3 separate regions of the Homo sapiens genome follow, and regions 1 and 2 are each linked to region 3. The links are contacts of gene promoters, found by promoter capture Hi-C in blood cells and fetal thymus (Javierre and others, 2016). All regions are on one chromosome and are shown on one strand. The core of a region is centred on a gene start or on the middle of the fragment in contact, and the rest is flanking DNA. Distances in the headings are between cores, read along the strand shown. Region 1 holds the start of NAPSA (napsin A aspartic peptidase). Region 2 holds the start of FPR1 (formyl peptide receptor 1). Region 3 holds the start of SIGLEC7 (sialic acid binding Ig like lectin 7).

Region 1 (2,700 bases), core at 38-2,537, 780 kb after region 3:
GGAGGCAGAGGTTGCAGTGAGCCAAGATGGCGCCATTACACTCCAGCCTAGGCAATAAGAGTGAAACTCCATCTCAAAAAAAAAAAAAAAATTTAGCCAGGGTGGTATCGGGTGCCTGTAGTCCCAGCTACTCGGGAGGCTGAGGCAGAATTACTTGCACCTGGGAGGCAGAGGTTGCAGTGAGCTGAGATCACACCATTGCACTGCAGCTTGGGCAACAAGAGCAAAACTCCATCTAAATAAATAAATAAATAAATAAATAAATAAATAAATAAATAACTCATCAATGCCCAGCCACCAATGAACATCTATAAGCATCAAGGCCATCCAGAATAAATGACCTTACCAAACAAATCAAATAAGCCACCAAGGACCAATCCTTGAAGAAACAGAGATATGTGACCTTTCCGACAGAGAATTTAAAATAGCTGTTTTGAGGAAACTCAAAGAAATTCAAGCTAACACACAGAAGGAATTCAGATTCCATCACATAAATTTAACAAAGAGATTGAAATAATTGAGAATCAGCTGGGTGCAGTGGCTCACGCCTGTAATCCCAGCACTTTAGGAGGCTGAGGCGGGCGGATCACCTGAGGTCGGGAGTTCTAGACCAGCCTGACCAACATGGAGAAACCCTGTCTCTACTAAAACTACAAAATTAGTGGGGCGTGGTTGCGCATGCCTGTAATCCCAGCCTGGGCAACAAGAGTGAAACTCGGTCTCAAAAAAAAAAAAACCAAAAAACAAAAACAAAAACAAACAAACAAAAAACAATACCCAATGATCTGTTGTCAACAAGAAACATACTTCACCTACAAATAAAACAGTAAGAGACTGGGTCCTGAAATGCGGGCCCACTTCATATGTGAGGGCAGGTGTCTAATCATGTCCTTTCTCCCTTCCCCCAGGCCCTTCACAGATACCTGCTGGTCTCTCCCACTTGGCCAAGGAAACACTTGTGGTTAATAAGTCTCAGAAAAGTTATGTGAAAGTTAAAAGTAAAACTGACAGCAGCTGAAGGATGGGGGGGTGGGAGGTGGTGACGGTGGAGGAGACCCCACCACCACTGCCACCCAAGTAGGGAGTGAGGAGCACCAGGAGCACAGGATGCTACTTCTGCCAACCCTACAAAAATACTCTGCACAAATCTTCAAAAAACATCCTTGTCCCACTGCGTCACCTGCGGACAGATTTCATGTCCTGGTCTCCTTCTAAACCTGGAGGTGGGGCATGAACAGGGTGGAGTCACAGGGGAAAGAAAATGAGGCCCCAGGACACCTGGGTTCACACCCAGGTCCCCAGCGATGTCTCCACCACCGCTGCTGCAACCCCTGCTGCTGCTGCTGCCTCTGCTGAATGTGGAGCCTTCCGGGGCCACACTGATCCGGTATGGTGACCCCATCTACCACCCCAACCTTAGGAGGGATTTTCTGCCTCTTGCCCTTTAAGTCTAGGACTCCCAGTTCAGTGATCCCCAAACTTGGCACCCAGGATCCCTAGAGCTTCTTTCTCAGCTTTCCAGATCTCTAAACCAGGCTGTCACCCCTAAGGGCTCCACTCTGACATCTCTTAAGACCAGATTTCTTTTTTTTGAGATGGAGTCTCACTCTGTTGCCCAGGCTGGAGTGCAATGGCATGATCTCAGCTCACTGAAACCTCTGCCTCCTGGGTTCAAGCGATTCTCCTGCCTCAGCTTCCCAAGTAGCTGGGATTACAGGCTCGCGCCACCATGCTCAGCTAATTTTTGTATTTTTAGTAGAGACGGGGTTTCACCATGTTGGCCAGGCTGGTCTGGAACCCCTGACCTCGTGATCCGCTCACCTCGGCCTCCCAAAGTGCTGGGATTACAGGCGTGAGCCACCGCGCCTGGCTGACCAGAGCCCTTTTATTATTATTATTATTATTATTATTATTTATTATTATTATTATTATTTGAGACAGAGTCTTGCTCTGTTACCCAGGCTGGAGTGCAGTGGGGCGATCTCAGCTCACTGCAACCTCTGCCTCCCGGGTTCAAGTGATTCTCCTGCCTCAGCCTCCCAAGTAGCTGGGACTACAGGCACATGCCACCACGCCCGGCTAATTTTTGTATTTTTAGTAGAGATGGGGTTTCGCCATGTTTGCCAGGCTGTCTTGAACTCCTGACCTCAAGTGATCTTTCCGCCTCAGCCTCCAAAAGTGCTGTGGTTACAGCTGTGAGCCCCCGCGTCCGGTCCCAGAGCCCTTTTAAGTCCCAGATCTTACAACACTGAGACTCTAGATTGAGGACCCCTCCCCCTCCTCTCAGGACTTTTTTTTTTTTTTTTTTTTTGAGACTGAGTCTCACTCTGTTGCCCAGGCTGGAGTGCAGTGGCGCAATCTTGGCTCACTGCAAGCTCTGTCCCCCGGGTTCACATCATTCTCCTGCCTCAGCCTCCCAAGCAGCTGGGACTACAGGCACCCGCCACCACGCCCGGCTAATTTTTTGTATTTTTAGTAGAGATGGGGTTTCACAGTGTTAGCCAGGATGGTCTCGATCTCCTGACCTCGTGATCCACCCACCTCAGCCTCGCAAAGTGCTGGGATTACAGGCGTAAGCCACCGCGCCTGGCCTTTTTTTTTTTTTTTTTTTGAGACGGAGTCTTGCCCTGTCGCCCAGGCTGGAGTGCAATGGCGCGATCTCAGCTCACTGCAACCTCCACCTCCCAGGCTGACACCATT
Region 2 (2,743 bases), core at 110-2,609, 610 kb before region 3:
CACTTCCTAACAGGCCACAGACCGGTATCGGTCTGTGTATTGGTCTATGGCCTGGAGGTTGGGGACCCCTGCTGTAATGTGAAGTCAGGAGCTGTGGTAGCTTTCTTGGAGCCATGAAGTGGCAATCCCCAGGAAAAAAAGTCACCATATTAGGGATAAAAAAGAGAAAAGATTAAAATGAATGTAGTTCTTGATGATATTTTCCAGATATAACCTAACCTAGTATTACCCTCTTGCAAAATTCTTGTAAAGTAAACCATAAATTTCGTCTTGGTTCTAAGCTAAGCTTGTCCAGCCCATGGCCTAAGATGGCTTTGAATGCAGCCCAACACAAATTCATAAACTTTCTTAAAACATTATCAGATTTTTGGGGGATTTTTTTTTTTTTTTTTTTTTTTAGCTCATCAGGTATCGTTAGTGTTAGTGTATTTTATGTGTGGCCCAAGACAATTCTTCTTCTTCCAGTGTGGCCCAGGGAAGGCAAAAGATTGGACACCCCTTGTTGAAGCCATTGTTAGGTGTAATTGTAAATTATAAATTACTTAGAATTAAAAACAGCCCGGCTCATGCCTGTAATCCCAGCATTTGGGGAGGCTGAGGCAGGAGGATCACTAAACCCAGGGGTCTGAGACATGCCTGGGCAACGTAGCAGGATACTGTCTCTAAAAGAAAAGAAAAAACAGTCTTAATGCAACAATGCCTTGGTAATAATGCTTTTAGAATCAGTGTCGTTATCTCTGATTCTGTAACTGTCTTACCATATTTCTCCATATCACTCTGATACCCTTGGAAGGATGCTTAACATTTCAGAAAAACGGTTATTTCTTTGGGCTAGAAGACTACAAATGAGCTTCCACAAGATCAGAGGATTATGGGGTTAATCTTGGTGGTGTGCATGGGTGTGGACGCGCTGTCCTGCCAACTGTCTCAACTTCCCCCACTCCCTTACCTCTCTCTGTGTTTCTGGTCTCCATCCCTCATGACTTCTTCTCTTCCTTTCATTGCCTCCCTCTGATTCTTCTCACCACAGTGCTTGCTGCTTTCTTTACCTTGACCCTTGGAGGGAGCAGGGGCCCGGACACTTGGATTTCTTGGCCCTTGTTGTTGAGAGCACTGAACCTCTGCATCCCACAGAGACTGAGGCTGAGAAATACAGTCAGGTACATGAGTTTCTAAACAGGCCCAGCCCACTGTCCTAATGCCATTAAAGCAGACAGTATATTGGTGTATTCTTGGGGCCATCAAAAATCAGAAGAAGCTCAGACTTCCTATTTCCTGCTACCCAGCTGGTTTTAGTTCCTTTACCCCTCCTCCTGTTCCTTGGTGTATGTTTTGCTGCAATCATTAGAGCCTGAGTCACTCTCCCCAGGAGACCCAGACCTAGAACTACCCAGAGCAAGACCACAGCTGGTGAACAGTCCAGGTAAGAAACATATTCTGGGGGACTGGGTAGCTTGACATAGACACACTTAATACACTGGTGAACACAATAGACTCTTTGTTTGAAGAAGGATGTGGAGTTGAAGAATAATTTTTTTAAAGAGGTTCTAAACAGGCCGGGCACGGTGACTCATGCTTGTAATCCCAGCACTTTGGGAGGCCAAGGCAGGTGGATAACTTGAGGTCAGGAGTTCGAGACCAGCCTGGCCAACATGTTGAAACCTCACTTCTATTAAAAATACAAAAATTAGCCAGGCGTGGTGGTGGGCGTCTGTAATTCAAGCTACTTGGGAGGCTGAGGCAGGAGAATTGCTTGAATCTGGGAGGTGGAGGTTGCAGTGAGCTCAGATTGCACCACTGTACTCCAGCCTAGGTGACAGAGTGAGACTCCATCTCAAATAAATAAGTAAATAAATAAATAAACAAATAGGCTCTAGACTTTATTGGGGTCCTGATGGGAATGATGGAATATAGAGACACTATGAGGCTGCAGGAGAGAGAAGGGATAAGTGAAGGAGGGAAGTTCTTGAGTAAATGGGGGAATGAGTTTTATGGGACCAGTAGAGGGTAATTCTTGGATGGAAACACTTGTTTTCTGGTTACAGAGATGAGGGCAGAGAACAGTGATGCAGGAGCCAGCAGGAGGAGAATCTGGTGGAGCAAGAGGCAAGGGCATCAGCTTGAGGGCTTGAGTCGGGATGGGAAAGGATGTTTGGTTTGAAGCTTTCAGGAGAAAGCAAAAGAGCCCTAACGACTTTATGATGGGTCATGGGGAAATGAGTGTAATACAGAAGCAGTCACCTTTCGGATCAGTGATGAGTCTCCACGTGAAGACACTGGTTCTGCATGGTGCATAGGACCCAGTAGCGGAATACAGCCCTGCCCTCTCATGAATCTGCAGACATTGGCTGTCATTTCTCATCAAGCTCCTAGTTTCCTCTTCCGTCACACAGGGATGATGATGTATAATCAATGCTGAGTTTGTTGAGATCAGAGGCAAGAAAGTTGAGGATGTGGTACAATGATTATCAAGCATAAAGTCCTTCATCGATGGCAGCCACCAAGGCCTGTGTTCATTGCAAATCACAGGATTTTTCCCTTGAACCATAATTGGACAAAATTGCACAGGTTTTCCTCTCTGGTATGTTCCAGCTCATTATTGCAGAATCCTCATCATTCATTGCAACAATCTTCTGAACTGGTTGCCTTAGAGATTCTTGAGGACAAAGAGTCCTCAGGGTATTTTGGTGGTTGGATGGGTGGTAGGGGAGGGAGACATCTCTGAGTTGTTTCTGAGATTGTA
Region 3 (2,700 bases), core at 102-2,601:
AGAGGAGCTGGAGACCTCAACCCAGCACGAAAGAGAAACTACAAACCCACATGCTATAGGAACTGGTTCCCTCTGCACAGAGTGAAGGAAACCCTGAAGCTCAGAGACCCTAGAGACCCACCCAGGGAGGAGAAGAGACCGTGTCCCACCTCCTACCTCCGGGCTTCCCTGGAGCACCAGGGCCTGCACCAGACACGTAGGTCCTGCCCTCCCGGCCTCTGGACCATCGTGGAGGTCCCTCCTGTCTTTTGAGCATCTAAATGTGGATCTCCGAGGACCTCAGGGCATGAGAGATGGAGGGGCCGTGTGCTGAGTCTCCCTGTCCAGGCTCAGGTGCCTCTGCTGCCCTTGGTTTGCGCCAGGAAGTGCTTCCTCCCTGGCCTGGCCTGAGAGAGTCACGGGGTTGTGTAGACCTAAGGCTCTCAACTGGGGAGGACTTAACCCCCCAGGACGTTTAACAATGTGTGGAGATAATTGTTATTGTCTCACTGCATGGGTGGAGTGGGTGCTTCTGGCATCTGGTGGGGAGAGGCCTGGGATGGTGCTAAACCCCGGCCATGCCTAGGACAGGCCCCAAAACAAGGAGTCATAAGGCCCCACATGCCACAATGCCAGCGTCAGAGGCAGGATGAGGATGTCAGGCCTGTGGGTCAGGGCTGGTGAGGGGAGGGGCCTGCAGGATCAGGAGGGGCATCCAAGGTGCGGTCCTGGGGAAGCTCAGGCTCTGGTCCAGCTCCTCTCCTGAGTCCATCACCCCCGGCCCCCTCCCAGGACATGTGTCCCGTCTCAGCCGTGCCCTAAAGCCCTCATCACATTTGCCTTTGGCCTCTCTTGGAGCCCGTGCCTTACCTGTCACGTTCACAGAGAGCTGGTCATATTTATAATTCCATTTTATATTTCCTTTCTCCATACGAAAGAAGTATCTCCCCGCATCACTCATTCTGGCATCTCTGATGCTCAGGGTGCAATTTTTGGTCTGTGGGTCCCCAAGGAGGTGGAATCGGTCCCGAGTTTCCTCCTGCACTGCCCAAGCTGGGTTGTTTGTGGCCACTGGAGCCTTCCAGCTTATATCATTCCCTGCCCGGAACCAGTAGCCATGAACTGGGTCAGAGTCAGTCTGGCTGTCCACTGGGTAGGAGAAGGAGCAGCGCACATGGACACACATGCCCTCTTGCACGGTCACGGAACTCTGCATCGTCAGCGAGTAATCCTTCCGGTTACTCTTCTGTCCTTCCACCCTCTCCCTCCCCCAGAGCAGGGGCAGCAGCAGCAGCAGCAGCATATCTGGGGTTGGAGGTGCCAGGGCCGCGAGGGAACGTCTGTTCCTCAGGGTTCTTCTCTCAGGAACTGCGGGCTCAAGACTTAGAAGAGGCCCTACAGGAAGTCGGTGGTGAGGTCAAAACAGTGACCTCCTTAGAAGAAGAACTTCACACACAGACACTGTCAGGGCTGGGTCAGCCCTGGGAGATCCACCGTCCACCACCCGACATTCACTCCTGGGTCCCTGAGGCCAGAGCGGGAGACAGACTCACCCAGATTCCCACCCCATGCAGGGCCCACCCCACCTCCTGCCTCCCTCTCAATGCCTTTCCCTTTAGGTGATATTTTCTGCAGGGTGAAAATAACTCCCATCTGCCCAGACCCCTGAGTCACAGGCTGTGGATGTCTGCGTAGCTCAGAAGTGGGACTCGGGGCCATGAGAGACAGGGGTGCAGGTGGGGTGAACAGGCAGCCTCTCATCCCTCCCTCAGCAGCCACGAGGTGGGCACCCCCTTTCTGCACAATGAGGTCAACACAGCAGAGCCGGACACTGTCCCCAAGGAGTCACTGTGTGGTGGGGAGACACTGAGTCTCCTGACGTTTGAGCTCCCCATGACAGGAGCTTCAGTGGGGGGCACAGGCAGGGTGGGGTCACTCTCCCCTAGGTCGGGGGTTCAGTCTCAGGAGGACCGAGCAGACGGACATGGGGCTGTGAAGGTGAGGATTGCGCCTGTTGATACACGCCAAGGACACGGAGGGGAGCCCAGCCTGCAGGAGGCCGGGGAAGCTGAGGCTGTGATTGTTGTATTGTGGGGCTTGGTAGACAGGAAAGTCATAAGGGAAAGGATCAATATGAAAAGAGCAGACACTATTCCCATCCTCACAGCTCTCTGAGCACAAGGACATTTCCCTTCACCACTGCTATCTCATGAGGCCTGGTTAGTGCAGAGTGTGAGGGGTCTGCTGGCCCTGGGGCTTTGCTCCTGCAGGAACTGCTCCTAGGGGTTCAGGTGAACAGGAGACGTGGAGCAAAGACACCAGCCCCGGGGCGTCCACCCTCAGTGATGGGCGCGATTTTCTGAGAGAAGAAACACGCACCTGACTTCAACAGAAGATTATTTTAAACTGTGTGACTGGGCTGGGAGGAAGTGGGAAAAATCCTGCAAGCTGCAGCCCCCTTAGATCCAGGCCAGCTTTTCTTGAAACAGTTTTTTTTGAGCGGGGAGAAACACAAGACATGTACATAAAAGTGTCCCCTAAAAACCAACTCAGTGATTCACACAAAATAAGCACCCTTGAAGAACTAGAACACAAAAGAACTGTCAAGTCTGTCCCTTGAAATGAAGAAAGAGATTTTATTAATTCATTCACCCTTACATTCCCCTTTCCTATTGGCCATGCCCCCGCTCCCTCCTGAAGGAGCCCCTAGCCTCACTTTAA

Evidence for each region. The method cuts DNA at HindIII sites, captures the fragments that hold promoters and counts their contacts. A CHiCAGO score of 5 or more calls a contact.
Region 1: the fragment with the promoter of NAPSA here is called in contact with the fragment with the promoter of SIGLEC7 in region 3 in 3 of 17 cell types (non-activated CD4 T cells, total CD8 T cells and M0 macrophages); the score reaches 6.8 in non-activated CD4 T cells.
Region 2: the fragment with the promoter of FPR1 here is called in contact with the fragment with the promoter of SIGLEC7 in region 3 in 13 of 17 cell types (neutrophils, erythroblasts, M1 macrophages and 10 more); the score reaches 15.6 in neutrophils.

What each region holds. Positions count from the first base shown.
Region 1 is chr19:50,364,226-50,366,925 of GRCh38, reverse strand. NAPSA (napsin A aspartic peptidase) reads left to right here and starts at 1,287. Exons shown (of 9, transcript NM_004851.3): 1 at 1,287-1,387. The coding sequence starts at 1,305. All of the region lies in intron 3 of LOC105372437 (a long non-coding RNA gene), which reads right to left. RefSeq lists an enhancer at 937-1,086. The HindIII fragment of the contact is 17,836 bases long and covers 1-2,700 here.
Region 2 is chr19:51,750,494-51,753,236 of GRCh38, reverse strand. It overlaps FPR1 (formyl peptide receptor 1), which reads left to right and starts at 1,359. Exons shown (of 2, transcript NM_002029.4): 1 at 1,359-1,423. The HindIII fragment of the contact is 1,877 bases long and covers 289-2,165 here.
Region 3 is chr19:51,140,952-51,143,651 of GRCh38, reverse strand. It overlaps SIGLEC7 (sialic acid binding Ig like lectin 7), which reads right to left and starts at 1,351. Exons shown (of 7, transcript NM_014385.4): 1 at 850-1,351. The coding sequence starts at 1,282. The HindIII fragment of the contact is 9,764 bases long and covers 1-2,700 here.